Regions from separate parts of the Homo sapiens genome. Here all the other regions are linked to region 1. The links are contacts of gene promoters, found by promoter capture Hi-C in human tissues and cell types (Jung and others, 2019). All regions are on one chromosome and are shown on one strand. Each heading gives the region's core, a stretch centred on a gene start or on the middle of the fragment in contact. The rest is flanking DNA. Distances are from core to core; before and after follow the strand shown.

Evidence for each region. The method cuts DNA at HindIII sites, captures the fragments that hold promoters and counts their contacts. A contact is called where the count stands out against the background at its distance.
Region 2: a contact is called between the fragment with the promoter of C8orf33 here and the fragment with the promoter of ZNF34 in region 1, in 3 of the 25 tissues and cell types used here (aorta, lymphoblastoid cells and small bowel).
Region 3: a fragment that was not itself captured here is called in contact with the fragment with the promoter of ZNF34 in region 1 in 2 of the 25 tissues and cell types used here (lymphoblastoid cells and spleen).

Annotation. Positions count from the first base shown.
Region 1 is chr8:144,784,506-144,788,781 of GRCh38, forward strand. It overlaps ZNF34 (zinc finger protein 34), which reads right to left and starts at 2,812. Exons shown (of 6, transcript NM_001286769.2): 1 at 2,774-2,812. It also overlaps the pseudogene RN7SL395P. RefSeq lists a silencer at 2,541-2,900 and enhancers at 3,051-3,280, 3,321-3,380. The HindIII fragment of the contact is 13,629 bases long and covers 1-4,276 here.
Region 2 is chr8:145,050,853-145,054,857 of GRCh38, forward strand. C8orf33 (chromosome 8 open reading frame 33) reads left to right here and starts at 1,615. Exons shown (of 5, transcript NM_023080.3): 1 at 1,615-1,645; 2 at 1,734-2,045; 3 at 2,210-2,294; 4 at 2,445-2,591; 5 at 3,166-4,005. The coding sequence starts at 1,640. The coding sequence ends at 3,305. RefSeq lists enhancers at 1,041-1,170, 1,211-1,260, 2,189-2,989 and a silencer at 1,471-1,540. The HindIII fragment of the contact is 15,142 bases long and covers 1-4,005 here.
Region 3 is chr8:144,387,900-144,392,140 of GRCh38, forward strand. ADCK5 (aarF domain containing kinase 5) reads left to right here. Exons shown (of 15, transcript NM_174922.5): 4 at 2,772-2,847; 5 at 2,957-3,157; 6 at 3,235-3,375; 7 at 3,462-3,575; 8 at 3,681-3,812; 9 at 3,884-3,967; 10 at 4,042-4,123; 11 at 4,193-4,241. Among named protein-coding and RNA genes, the nearest start is that of MIR939, 4.2 kb to the right of the region's middle. RefSeq lists an enhancer at 550-1,051. The HindIII fragment of the contact is 8,607 bases long and covers 1-4,241 here.

The DNA of each region.
Region 1 (4,276 bases), core at 1,562-4,061:
TCCCAGCACTTTGGGAGGCCGAGGTGAGTGGATCACAAGGTCAAGAGTTCAAGACCAGCCTAGCTAAGATGGTGAAACACTGTCTCTACTAAAAATACAAAAATTAGCCGGGCGTGGTGGCGGGCACCTGTAATCCCAGCTACTCAGGAGGCTGAAGTAGGAGAATCGCTTGAACCCGGGAGGCGGAGGTTGCAGTGAGCCAAGATCACGCCACTGCACTCCAGCCTGGGTGACAGAGCAAGACTCTGTCTCAAAAAAATAAATAGAAATAAAAATAAATAAACAATAAAAGCCTATAAAGAAAAAGATTGTTTGATTCCATCAAAAAGAAAAAAGGCCAGGCATGGTAGCTCACACCTGTAATCTCAGTGCTTTGGGAGGCCGAGGTGGCCAGATTGCTTGAGCTCAGGAGTAGGAAACCAGCCTGGGTAACATGGTGAAACCCCAGCTCTACAAAAATTAGCCAACGTGGTGGTGTGAGCCTGTGGTTCCAGTCAAAACCTCAGGTGGCTGAGGTAGAAGAATCGTTTGAGAGTGGGAGATGGAGGCTGCAGGGAGCCAAGATGGTGTCACTGCACTCCAGCCTTAGCCAGACCCTGCCAAAAAAAAAAAAAAAAAAAAAAAGAAAAAGGATTCTGTACAAGACACCACAAAGATAAAAGGCAAGCAGACAAGCTGCAGAGTGAAAGATATTTGCAGACACATAACAAAGTATAAATATACAGAATATATTTAAAACATTTTTAAATTAGAAAAATGTCACAATTTTTAATAAATGAACACAGGATATGACCTGGCAAACCCTGTAGTCCCAGCTACTCAGAAGGCTGAGGCAGGAGGATCACTTGAATCTAGGAGTTCTGGGCTGTAGTGCTGCTGTGCCAATTGGGTGTCCCCACTAAGTTCGGCATCAATATGGTGACATCCGGGGAGCAGGAGACCACCATATTGCCTAAGGAAGGGTGAATCAGCTCAGGTGGGAAACAGGGCAGGTCAAAACTCCTGTGCTGATCAGTAGTGGGATCACGCCTGCGAGTGGCCACTGCACTCTAGCCTGAGCAACATAGTGAGAACCCCATCTCTAATTTTTTAATTAAGAAAAAATGTAAAGTAAAACAAGACTCTCCCCACAGATTGGGGAAATATAAAATACTTCATAATACCAAATGTTCAGAACACTGTAAACTGGTAGACACTCTAGAAATATGTCTGGCCCTACCTGGTAGAACTGAAACCCTGCAAAACTCTCAGTGGGGAAACCCCACTCGAAGTATGTACTTTATGGAGACTCTTGCTAATGCACACAAAAAGAAACACAAAAATGTTACCATGTGCCTGTGTAGAAGAAGAAAAAACTTCAGCGTCCATCAGCAAAGTCAGAGTGGTGGAAAGTAATGTCAAGGAGATAGAGCACAGTTATAAGGCTGAGAAAAACTGTCAGGTACAGAATATACACAGTATAATACATAGGTAGTTTTTTTTTTTTTTTTTTTTTTTGAGACGGAGTCTTGCTCCATCACCCAGGCTGGAGAGCAGTGGCGGGATCTTGGCTCACTGCAAGCTCCGCCTCCCGAGTTGACGTCATTCTCCTGCCTCAGCCTCCCAAGTAGCTGGGACTACAGGCGCCCGCTACCACGCCCGGCTAATTTTTTTGTATTTTTTAGTAGAGACGGGGTTTCACTGGGTTAGCCAGGATGGTCTCGATCTCCAGACCTAGTGATCCCCCCCGCGCCTTGGCCTCCCAAAGTGCTGGGATTGCAGGCGTGAGCCACCGTGCTCTGCCATACATATGTAGATTTTTAAGAGACAAAAACAGTATTAGGTTTGTAGAGATATAAGAAAACGAGGCCGGGCGCAGTGGCTCACGCCTGTATTCCCAGCACTCTGGGAGGCTGGGGCGGGCAGATCACTTGAGGTCAGGAGTTCGAGACCAGCCTGGCCAACATGGTTAAACCCCATCTCTACTAAAAATACAAAAATTAGCTGGGCATGGTGGCGGGCGCCTGTAATCCCAGGTATTCGGGAGGCTGAGACAGGAGAATCCCTTGAACTCGGGAGGCGGAAGGTGCATTGAGCCGAGATCGCGCCATCGTACTCCAGCCTGGGCGACAGAGCGAGACTCCGTCTCAGAAAAAGAGAGAGAGAAAGGAAAGAAGGAAGAGAAGAGAAAAGAAAAGAAAGAAAAAATAAAGAAGAGAAACAAAAATCTGGCTGCCTGGCTGCGGGGAGAAAAGCCTTGGAGCGCCAGAAGCGAGGAGGGTGGGGCGGAGGGAAGGCACAAGCAGAGGGAGGAGCACTGGCGGAGCGCGGACGCTAAAGGCAGGAGGGGCGGCATTCGCAGAGGGCTGGGAGGACCGCGAGACGCACGAGCCCCGCCCCTGAAAAGCTGACAGGAGAGGAGCGTGGGAGGGAGCCGGGATGGGAAGCCTCGGGCCGCTGGGACCAAGGGGTCTGGAGCGCATCGGGACGCAGAAGCCGCTCTGTGCGGCAGGAGTCCAGGGGACCCCGCGTGGGGCAAGGGAGTTGTCAGGGGCTCGAGAGCGGAAGGAGCCCCGTGAGGAGCGACCCCAGGGCTGGCAGAGAGCGGCGAGGCGCAGTCCGTACTCGGGGCCTTGTCCGGGGGGTCCCTCGAACAGGAAGTGCCGCTGATGGCGGGACGGACCCACGCCTGCAGCACCGCGAGAGGACCGGGCACAGGGGCAACGCGCAGGGGAGGGTCTGCGCCGGGAGGGTCTGCGCCCCGCGCGCCCGCCCCCGCCGGGCTCACACTCACCTCAGCGCCGCCGAGCAGCACGGCAGCCCAACCTCGCCCGTTCGGCCCTCCCTCCCCGCCAATCGGAACCGATCCGGAAGTGACGTCAGCCGACTGTCTGGGTCCGAGGCGCCGTCCGGGCCGCTCTGGGAAGCTAGGACGCCGCGTGTCGGCTGCCCACCTCCCTGGCTTGCAGTAAGGCTCCGGGGACCCGCGAATGGCAAAGCCGTAAAGCGGGAATGCTGCCACCGGGTGGCAGTCCGAAGCCACGGCCCAGAGGCCTCAGAACTGGGGCGATGGTCAGAGGCGAAAACATATTAGTCTTTCCCTTTTTCTGAGAAATTCTCTCCCTAATGATGCACGAAAGGCGCCGCAAACAAGAACTAGGCCCTTCGATTTACAGAGAAACGGGAACCGCACCCTTCCTTAGGGCCAAGAAAGGATGCTTACTGGCCAAAGAAGCCTGTCTTGGGTTTAACCTATTGCTCCTCATCCTTAACTCCTGTAAATGGGGCCCAGTGTCCACTCTGGAGAAAGGGTTTTTCGGGTGCCTGAGCTGCTTCTGGAACAAACTTTCCCTCATGGCCGGTCCATCGGCCAAGCCCTGCCGTCCACTTTGCCCAGAAGGGAGCAGAAAAACAGTGACCGCTTATGGCCAAGCTAAGCATCTAGTGCTTTCCCAAAACCCTCTTTCCAGATGCCCCTCCATCCTTCAGGAGGAAACACCGCCCTCCTGGATTCTTTCTCGACAAGTCAGCTGGGACCCTGGGACCGGCCCTGCGAATGACGAGATCAAAACCAGGTCCCGTAGTTACTGGCGGGGAGGCGGGGCTGGAGTGGGAGGACCACATGAGGCCAGGGGCTTGAGACCAGCCTGGCAATAGCGAGAGCCTGTCTAAAATAAACAGGCCCTGCTGGGTCACTGCCTAGGTGTGGTGGGCGCCCAAAGACAGGTGGGGCCATACCAGCAGGATCAGGAAAGCAAGATCACGAAATGGGGGGTAAGGTTCTCTAGAGACAGCGTGGACCATGACAGCCAGGAACCACCGCGCAGCCAGTTAGGACTTGTCATCCCGGAGTGACCACGGAAGCCTAAGGTGACTATTCTCACCTGCCAGGCACCCTCCAACCAAGTCTATAGGGAGAGACCGTGCCTCATCCTGCCTGCTGCAGTTCCACAGGAGTGTTGTTAGGGGCAGTGATCTGCAGCTGCTGCATTCGCTGGTGGAACTTCCTCGTGTGAAAGTGCTGATAGGATGCTGTCCTGGGATCTCCTCATTGGATCATGGTTAAGGGACAAGATGCCATGGGCTATGGCCAAACAGGAAGCCCCTCCACTCTGCCTTGTGACGGAAACCAGCTTACTTGCCCTCCCATTGCAGGGGGGGTTCCCCAACACTTCCAACCTGATTCCACTCAATCATCACTGTCAGCCTCATCACTACCAAAGCTAGAGAGAACCAAAGTATCAGCCCCTGCCAGCAGGGAAAGGCCATGTGCTTTAAGGTAATCAATGCAGCTTTG
Region 2 (4,005 bases), core at 365-2,864, 270 kb after region 1:
TTCTTTCTCCTTTGTAATAAATTACTGTATGCCGCATCTCCTTTACTGCGTGTCCCGTTTAAATTCTGCGTGTTTTTTTTTTTTTTTTTTTTTTAGATGGAGTCTCGCTCTGTCACCCAGGCTGTAGTGCAGCGGTGCGATCTTGGCTCACTGCAAGCTCCACCTCCCGGGTTCATGCCATTCTCCTGCCTCAGCCTCCCGAGTAGCTGGGACTACAAGTGCCCGCCACTATGCCCGGCTAATTTTTTGGTATTTTTTAGTAGAGACGGGGTTTCACTATGTTAGCCAGGATGGTCTCAAACTCCTAACCTCGTGATCCGCCCGCATCGGCCTCCCAAAGTGTTGGGATTACAGGCGTGAGTCACCGCGCCCGGCCAATCCGCCGAATTTTGGGAGTAATGTATCACACTGCAGTAAATAACTATCAGTGATGACCAAACTGTAACCCTTCGAGACCTTGCAGACCAGGCAGCTAACACTTCCCACCCCACCGTCTCAGGAAACACCGCTTTCCACTCCTGTGTCCCCGAAAGGAATCATCAGACATCTCGGACTCTTACCTTCTCAAGCAACACAACCCACCCTCCTGGCATAGCCCGTTGCCCCCCTGAAACCCTACTCAGCCTCACCTCAACCCCTACGCAATTCCTCTCGGTTGTCATGCCTCCATCGGCGGGGGTCGAGTGTTGTGTGTGACCCCAGGTCTCTAGCAAGGTATAGTGGGAGGGAAGCATCCAGGGGAAGAGAGGTGGTGGGATGGGGCTCTCCCTCTCCCCCATACCGCCACCCTCCCTCACGTCCATATCCTGTCCAAGGCTCTTCCCGCGTCTGCTTCTGAAACCCCTCCACGTCCCTCCACCCCATGTGCCCCACTCGTTACACAAGAGCAGAGAGATCTGCAGAACATACGTCTACGATTATGCCACTCTTCAGATTTACATCTTGCAGCGACTTCCCACTGCGTTAGAACGGAAGTAAGCCCATGACGGGGGCCCTCCCAACTCTCAGACCTCACCCGAGCCTCCACGTCCCGAGACGCCGGCCTCTCAAACGACCGCGCCCTGACCCTCGCTCTTCCCCATTTCCCAGGGTCTTTGCCGACCACCCTCTTGCGCCGTAGCTGCTCACGTGCTGTTTACTTGCTTTTCCCTCCCCACCAAAAGGTGAGCCTTGAGAAGACACACCCTCGTGGAGAGCTTTGAACTTTTATCCGGAAAGGTGCCGGGCACGTAGTCAGCGCCCGCGATCACTCGCTCACAAGGGTTCTTCCGAGACCCCTCTTCAGCCTCTTCCCCGAACCCCCAGGCCCCGCCCCAGCCCCATCTCAGCTTCGTCCCAGGCGCGTCCCAGCTTCGCCCCGTCCCAGCTTCATCCCACCCCAGCCGCGCCCCGCCCCGCCCGCTCCCCGCCCCGCCCGCGCCCCGCCCGCGCCCCGCCCCGCCCGCGCCCCGCCCGCGCCCCGCCCGCGCCCCGCCCGCGCCCCGCCCGCGCCCCGCCCGCGCCCCGCCCGCGCCCCGCCCGCGCCCCGCCCGCGCCCCGCCCGCGCCCCGCGGAACCTAGAGTCGCAGGCGCGTTCTTGAAGGACGGAATTCGGCGTCGGACTCTGCGCCCCGCGTAGTTCCGGTGGCGACTGCGGCGCATGGCGGTGAGCGGTGTGGAGAAGACGCGCGGGTGGCTGGGCCTTGCATTGTTGGCGGCTCTCGGTGACCCTCGTGCTACCCCCCTTTCTCCAGGCCCTGGGACATCTTGCTGGGGAGGCAGCGGCGGCCCCAGGCCCGGGTACTCCCTGCGCGTCCCGCGGAGCCCGGCTTCCCGGCCCAGTTTCCAGCGCCCGGAATCCTTCCACTGTCTGTCTCTGCCCAGAGCAACCTACGTGCAGTAACGCTGACTCCAGAGCGCACCCGTTGGGCGATGAAGGCGGCACAGCGTCGAAAAAACAAAAGAATAAGAAGAAAACGCGGAACAGGGCCTCTGTGGCAAATGGAGGCGAGAAGGCCTCAGAGAAACTCGCCCCAGAAGAAGTTCCCCTAAGCGCTGAGGCCCAGGCAAGGGCGGGCTTCGGTCGGGAAGGGTGGAATCCACGGGTGCGAATCCACGGGCACGTGTGATCTGGGGTCCGCGGAGTTAAGGCGGGGAGGGGCATGGGATGGGGCCGGCGGCTATGGTTTTCCAGTGCCCTCTCACAGCCACTTCCCCAAATCCATCACAGGCACAACAGTTGGCCCAGGAATTGGCTTGGTGTGTGGAGCAACTGGAGCTGGGCCTCAAGAGGCAGAAACCCACCCCGAAACAGAGTAAGGGACCCTTCTGTAGAGCTGGGGGATGTGAACAGTGGCACTGCCTGGCCTGCAGGTGCTGGCAGAGTATGGAGTTGTTGGCTTTGCGGCGGGGTGGTAGGAGGTCAGTAATAGAGGTGTTCACTAGTCCTTTATTTTTATTCGCAGAAGAGCAGGCTATTGGAGCAATCCGAACCCTGCGCAGCAAAAGAACGCCCTTGCCCCGGAAGAGGCAGCTGATGCACTCCTTGTTTGGAGACTATAGGGCTCAGATGGAAGCCGAATGGCGTGAGGCCCTGCGGGCTCTCAGAGCTGGTGAGGAGCTAGCCACTGGTTGATTCAGGAAGGCCTAACTTAAGGAGGAAGTGTCTAGGGGGTGAAAGGAAGAAGGCCCAGAGCAACAAGCCTGGTGGGGGAAGGAGATGGGCTCAGGGAAGCCTGAGGGAGCAGGGAAACAGAAAGCGTGGACCTCTCTTTCCTCTTCCTAGGACTGAACCTGGGAAGCAGCGGGGAGGCCCTGGGAGGAGTGGGAAAGAGCATGGTCCTATGTTGGTCCTGCTCCTGGGTTGGGGAAAGCTGCCTCATGTCTTTGTGTCTTGGCTTTCTCTACTAGCAATGAAGCCATATCCCATAACAGTTTGAGTGCAATTCCTGGGGCCAGATCAGCTAGGTTCAAATCCTGGATCTACCACATAGTAGTACTAACACCTTTTGCAAACTACTGAACCTCTCTAAGTGGGGGATGATAGTAATATCAACCTTACAAATTTGAGGAATTAATCAGTTAATTTATGCAAGGTGGTTAGAATTGTATGGGCAAACATAACTGTACAGGTAATGTTAATTGTTATTATTCAGTTCTGACATACGCTGCTTCTCTCCCCGACAGCTGCTTATTCAGCCCAGGTGCAACCTGTAGATGGAGCCACCAGAAAGAAGAGCCAAAGGGTCTGCAGGCCTCGCTCTATATGGAGAGCCAAAGCCACTCTGGACATGCCTGATGAAGAGTTTAGGTTCAATTTCTTTTAGCGTCTCCCCGAACCTGAAACAATCCCCCTCCCTTGGGGTGGTGTAGGGGTTTGTTTTGAGTGCAGAGCCTTTCCAGGACTTCTGTTGTCAGAGAACCCTGGAGTTGGTCTGTCCCTGGCTGGTCCAAGGATTTGTAGCTGTTGTGAAGGTGTGAGACCATCAGATAGGCAAAAGACCCCGTTCGTTTTCTGATGAAATGTTCTCTCTTTCAGAAGAGAGAGAGAGGTGCATTTAGAAAATATGCAATAAATTGAAGTGAGTGTTCAAAGTATTGTAGAAGGAATATTGTACTCAGTCTTTAGGATTAGATTAAGTGGCTGTTGGTAACAAAGATTAGTGGAGAAGCTGTATAATCGTACACTGGTTTTCACTTTTGAAAGGAATCCCTGTCAAATGGTTTAGTGCTTAATGCTGTTATGTCATATTGCCCTAATCTCTATTTTTGATAAAATTGGATAAGGAGTGAAAGAGTATGCTGACCACCTATGTTAGAGGAAGTACAGAAGATGCAGGGGTGTGGTATCCCTGGGTCCAGTCCCTCACCTGGTACCTTTGTGCATGTTGCCTTCATTCCTGAGCAGGTATCATCCTCAGGGAACCAGCATGGCACCTACCAGGCCAGGCTCTGTTCTTAGGAGCAAGGAGCTTCTTGCGCTAACAGTTCTGGCCTGAGACCTGGATTGAGCCTTGGCAGACTTCT
Region 3 (4,241 bases), core at 882-3,381, 400 kb before region 1:
TTTTGTATTTTTTAGTAGAGGCGGGTTTCTCTGTGTTGGTCAGACTGGTCTTGAACTCCTGACCTCAGGGGATCCGCCCGCCTTGGCCTCCCAAAGTGCTGGGATTATAGGTGTGAGCCACCACACCCGGCCTCCAACATTTTGTGAAAAACTTCAAACATACAGCAATGTTGAAAATGCTCTGTGAGGCAATGTGAAATGCAATGTGAAAATGCTTTGGGAGGCCGAGGAGGGCGGATCACGAGGTCAGGAGTTCGAGACCAGCCTGACCAACGTGGAGAAACCCCATCTCTACTAAAGATAGAAAAATTAGCTGGGCATGTGGTGGGCACCTGTAGTCCCAGCTCCTCGGGAGGCTGAGGCGGGAGAATTGCTTGAACCTGGGAGGCGGAGGTTGCAGTGAGCCTAGACTGTGCCACTGCACTCCAGTCTGGGCGACAGAGCGAGATTCCATCTCAAAAAAAAAAAAAAAATTAAATTCCTTCTCCCCCAAGCACAAGTCTGTGGGACTTTTTCACATCTTTAAGTTTTGTTACAAAAGTGTTGTGTTTACTATAACAAATTTTAATAGTAGAAAAGTTAGAGCCGGGCACGGTGGCTCACGCCTGTAATCCCAGCACTTTGGGAGGCCAAGGTGGGCGGATCACGAGGTCGGGAGATCGAGACCATCCTGGCCAACACGGTGAAACCCCATCTCTACTAAAAATACAAAAAAATTAGCCGGGCGTGGTGTTGGGCGCCTGTAGTCCCAGCTACTCTGGAGGCTGAGGCAGGAGAACGGCGTGAACCTGGGAGGCGGAGCCTGCAGTGAGCCAAGATCGCCACCACACTCCAGCCTGGGCGACAGAGCGAGACTCCGTCTCCAAAAAAAAAAAAAAAGAAACCGAAACCCTGGCCTAACCCAAGCACGCACTCCAGATGCTCTACGGGGGCCAGAGTGGGGCCTGAATGGCCGGGGGGTCGCCCTGGGTTGATGGGGGACACAGAGTCCACCTGAGCGCCAGAGCTGCGCTTCAGGAATGACTGTGGGCCCTGTCCCCAGGCAGGTACGTGAGCTTCACAGAACGCAGGGACAGGCCTCTGGCCATGGCCAGCCTTGGAGAAGCCACTCTGACCTCAGCCCCTCCCTGTGCACCTGTGTGTGGTCTGCCCGCTGCCTGGCGCCTCATTCCAGGGCTGCCCAGCTGGTCCCCAGAGTTCTCCCAGGGCTCCCACCCTGATATCCTCCTAACTGGGGCCAGGCCTGGGGACACCCCTCTACCCCATCCTCTTGCCTAAATCTCCCCCAGGAGCCCAGTACCTGCTCAACAGATACCCAGGATGTCCCCCACTTCCTGCCTTAACTGGGCTCTCTTCCCTGCAGACCTTGCCTCCCCAGGCCTTGGAGACCCACCCTCCTGGTGTCCTCCTCTCTTCCTAGTGGACCTCAGGCTGCAGGTGACCTTGACCCTCCTGTGACCTCTGCTGCCTCAGCCCTGCCCCCTTGCTGCCATCCTTTACCTTCACAGACAGCCTTGGAACCCCATCTCTCCAGAGGATGCCACCGTCCATACTGTCCCCTACCCCATCTCACCTGGGCACCCTTGAGGGTGGCAGGGAGTGAGGGTGGCATGGACACAGGCTGCCCATTCTGCAGATCTTTTTTTGTTTTTTGAGACGGAGTCTCGCTCTGTCGCCAGGCTGGAGTGCAGTGGCGCAATTTTAGCTCACCGAAACCCGCCTCCTGACTTCAAGTGATTCTCCTGCCTCAGCCTCCTGAGTAGCTGGCACTACAGGCACGCACCACCATGCCCAGCTAATTTTTGTATTTTTAGTAGAGACTAGGTTTCACCATGTTGGTCAGGATGGCCTCAATCTCTTGACTTTGTGATCTGCCCGCCTCGGCCTCCCAAAGTGCTGGGATCATAGGTGTGAGCTACCAAGCCCAGCCTCTTTTTTTTTTTTTTGAAACCGAGTTTCGCTCTTGTTGCCCAGGCTGGAGTGCAATGGCGCGATCTTGGCTCACTGCAACCTCTGCCTCTCGGGTTCAAGCAATTCTCCTGCCTCAGTCTCCCGAGTAGCTGGGATTACAGGTGTGCACCACCACACCCGGCTAATTTTTTTGTATTTTAAGTAGAAATGGGGTTTCACCATGTTGGCCAGGCTGGTCTTGAACTCCTGACCTCTGGTGATCCACTCACCTCGGCCTCCCAAAGTGCTGGGATTACAGGCGTGAGCCACTGTGCCCAGCTCTGCAGATCTTTTTTGGACGGAGTCTCGCTCTGTTGCCCAGGCTGGGGTGCAGTGGTGCAATCTCAGCTTACTGCAGTCTCCACCTCCTAGGCTCAAACGATCCTCCTGCCTCAGCTTCCTGAGGAGCTGGGACCACAGGTGTGCACCACCGTGCCTGCCTAATTTTTTTGCATTTTTGGTAGAGACAGGGTTTCAACATGTTGCCCAGGCCAGTCTCGAACTCCTGAGCTCAAGTGATCCTCCCAGCACAGCCTCCCAATGTGATGGGATAATTGACATGAGCCACCACACCTGGCCCCGTTCTACTGATCTTGAGCTGAGACTGACCTGCAGGGCCACAGGACACCCCACGAGCTCAGCAGCACCCCTTGTGCTCACACAGGCCTACGCGGCTGTAGGCTGGACCCTGGCTTGGCCTCACCCTTGGGACATGAAGGGCTGGCCGGGGTGAGGCTAGACCATGAGGGCTCTGACAAGAGGACCAAGCACCGGGGCCCCGAGCCTGCCCCGCTGGAGACTGAGGCCACCTCTGCCCGCAGGTCTCTGAAGGTCGGCCTGCAGATCTCCCTGGACTACTGGTGGTGCACCAATGTTGTCCTTCGAGGGGTGGAAGAGGTTTGTCCTGGTGCCCTGGGCACACAGTGGTGGGCATGAGGTGGTGGGCTGGGTGGGACTGAGGAGGCAGCCACCTGTCCCCATGTGTTCTCCCCATGCCTGTGGTCAGAACAGCCCAGGCTACTTGGAGGTGATGTCTGCGTGTCACCAGCGGGCGGCTGATGCCCTGGTGGCAGGGGCCATCAGCAACGGGGGCCTCTACGTGAAGCTGGGCCAGGGGCTGTGCTCCTTCAACCACCTGCTTCCCCCCGAGTATACCCGGACCCTGCGCGTGCTAGAGGACAGGGCCCTCAAGCGGGGCTTCCAGGAGGTGAGTGTGCGCTCAGGCCGAGGGAGGTGGGGCCTCCAGCAGTGGCCCCAGGCTGCTCTGAGCACCTGTCCTTCCAGGTGGATGAGTTGTTCCTTGAGGACTTCCAGGCCCTCCCCCACGAGCTCTTCCAGGAGTTTGACTACCAGCCAATTGCTGCCGCCAGCCTGGCACAGGTGCACAGAGCCAAGCTGCACGATGGCACCAGCGTGGCTGTGAAGGTATATGGGGGCTGCCTTGTTCAGCAGTGGGCTGGGGCGGGGCACAGTGGGGCCCCAAGTTCTCACCACACCCTCGCCCAGTGCAGGTGCAGTACATCGACCTGCGGGACCGCTTTGATGGGGACATCCACACCCTGGAGCTCCTGCTGCGGCTCGTTGAGGTCATGCACCCCAGCTTTGGCTTCAGCTGGGTCCTCCAGGTACAGCCCCACCCCTTCCCCGGCCAGCAGGAGCAAACACGTAGGCAGAGCTGGTAGGAGCAGCTGGTAGGCAGAGCTGGTCTTCAACCGCCATCTGGCCCCCAGGACCTGAAGGGGACCCTGGCCCAGGAGCTGGACTTCGAGAATGAGGGCCGCAACGCAGAGCGCTGTGCGCGGGAGCTGGCGCACTTCCCCTACGTCGTGGTGCCCCGCGTGCACTGGGACAAGTCCAGCAAGGTGGGCTGGGCCAGGCCCTTGGGGTGGGCACAGCGCTGGGCCTGCTGAGCCCAGCCTCTTGCTCTCCCCAGCGCGTGCTCACTGCCGACTTCTGCGCCGGCTGCAAGGTCAACGATGTGGAGGCCATCAGGAGCCAGGGGCTGGCAGTGCATGACGTGAGTGCGGGGGGGCGGGGGCGGGTCAGGGCGGGCTGGTGCTGTGTCCACTGCAATGCCTCTCCTCTCCCCAGATAGCAGAAAAGCTCATCAAGGCCTTTGCTGAGCAGATATTTTACACCGGCTTCATCCACTCGGACCCACATCCTGGCAACGGTAGGAATTTACCCCAGGGGTGGGGGTCTCAGGGTGGGCGCAGCGCGACCTAAGAGGCTGTATCCCTAGTTCTGGTGCGGAAAGGCCCGGACGGGAAAGCGGAGCTGGTGCTGCTGGA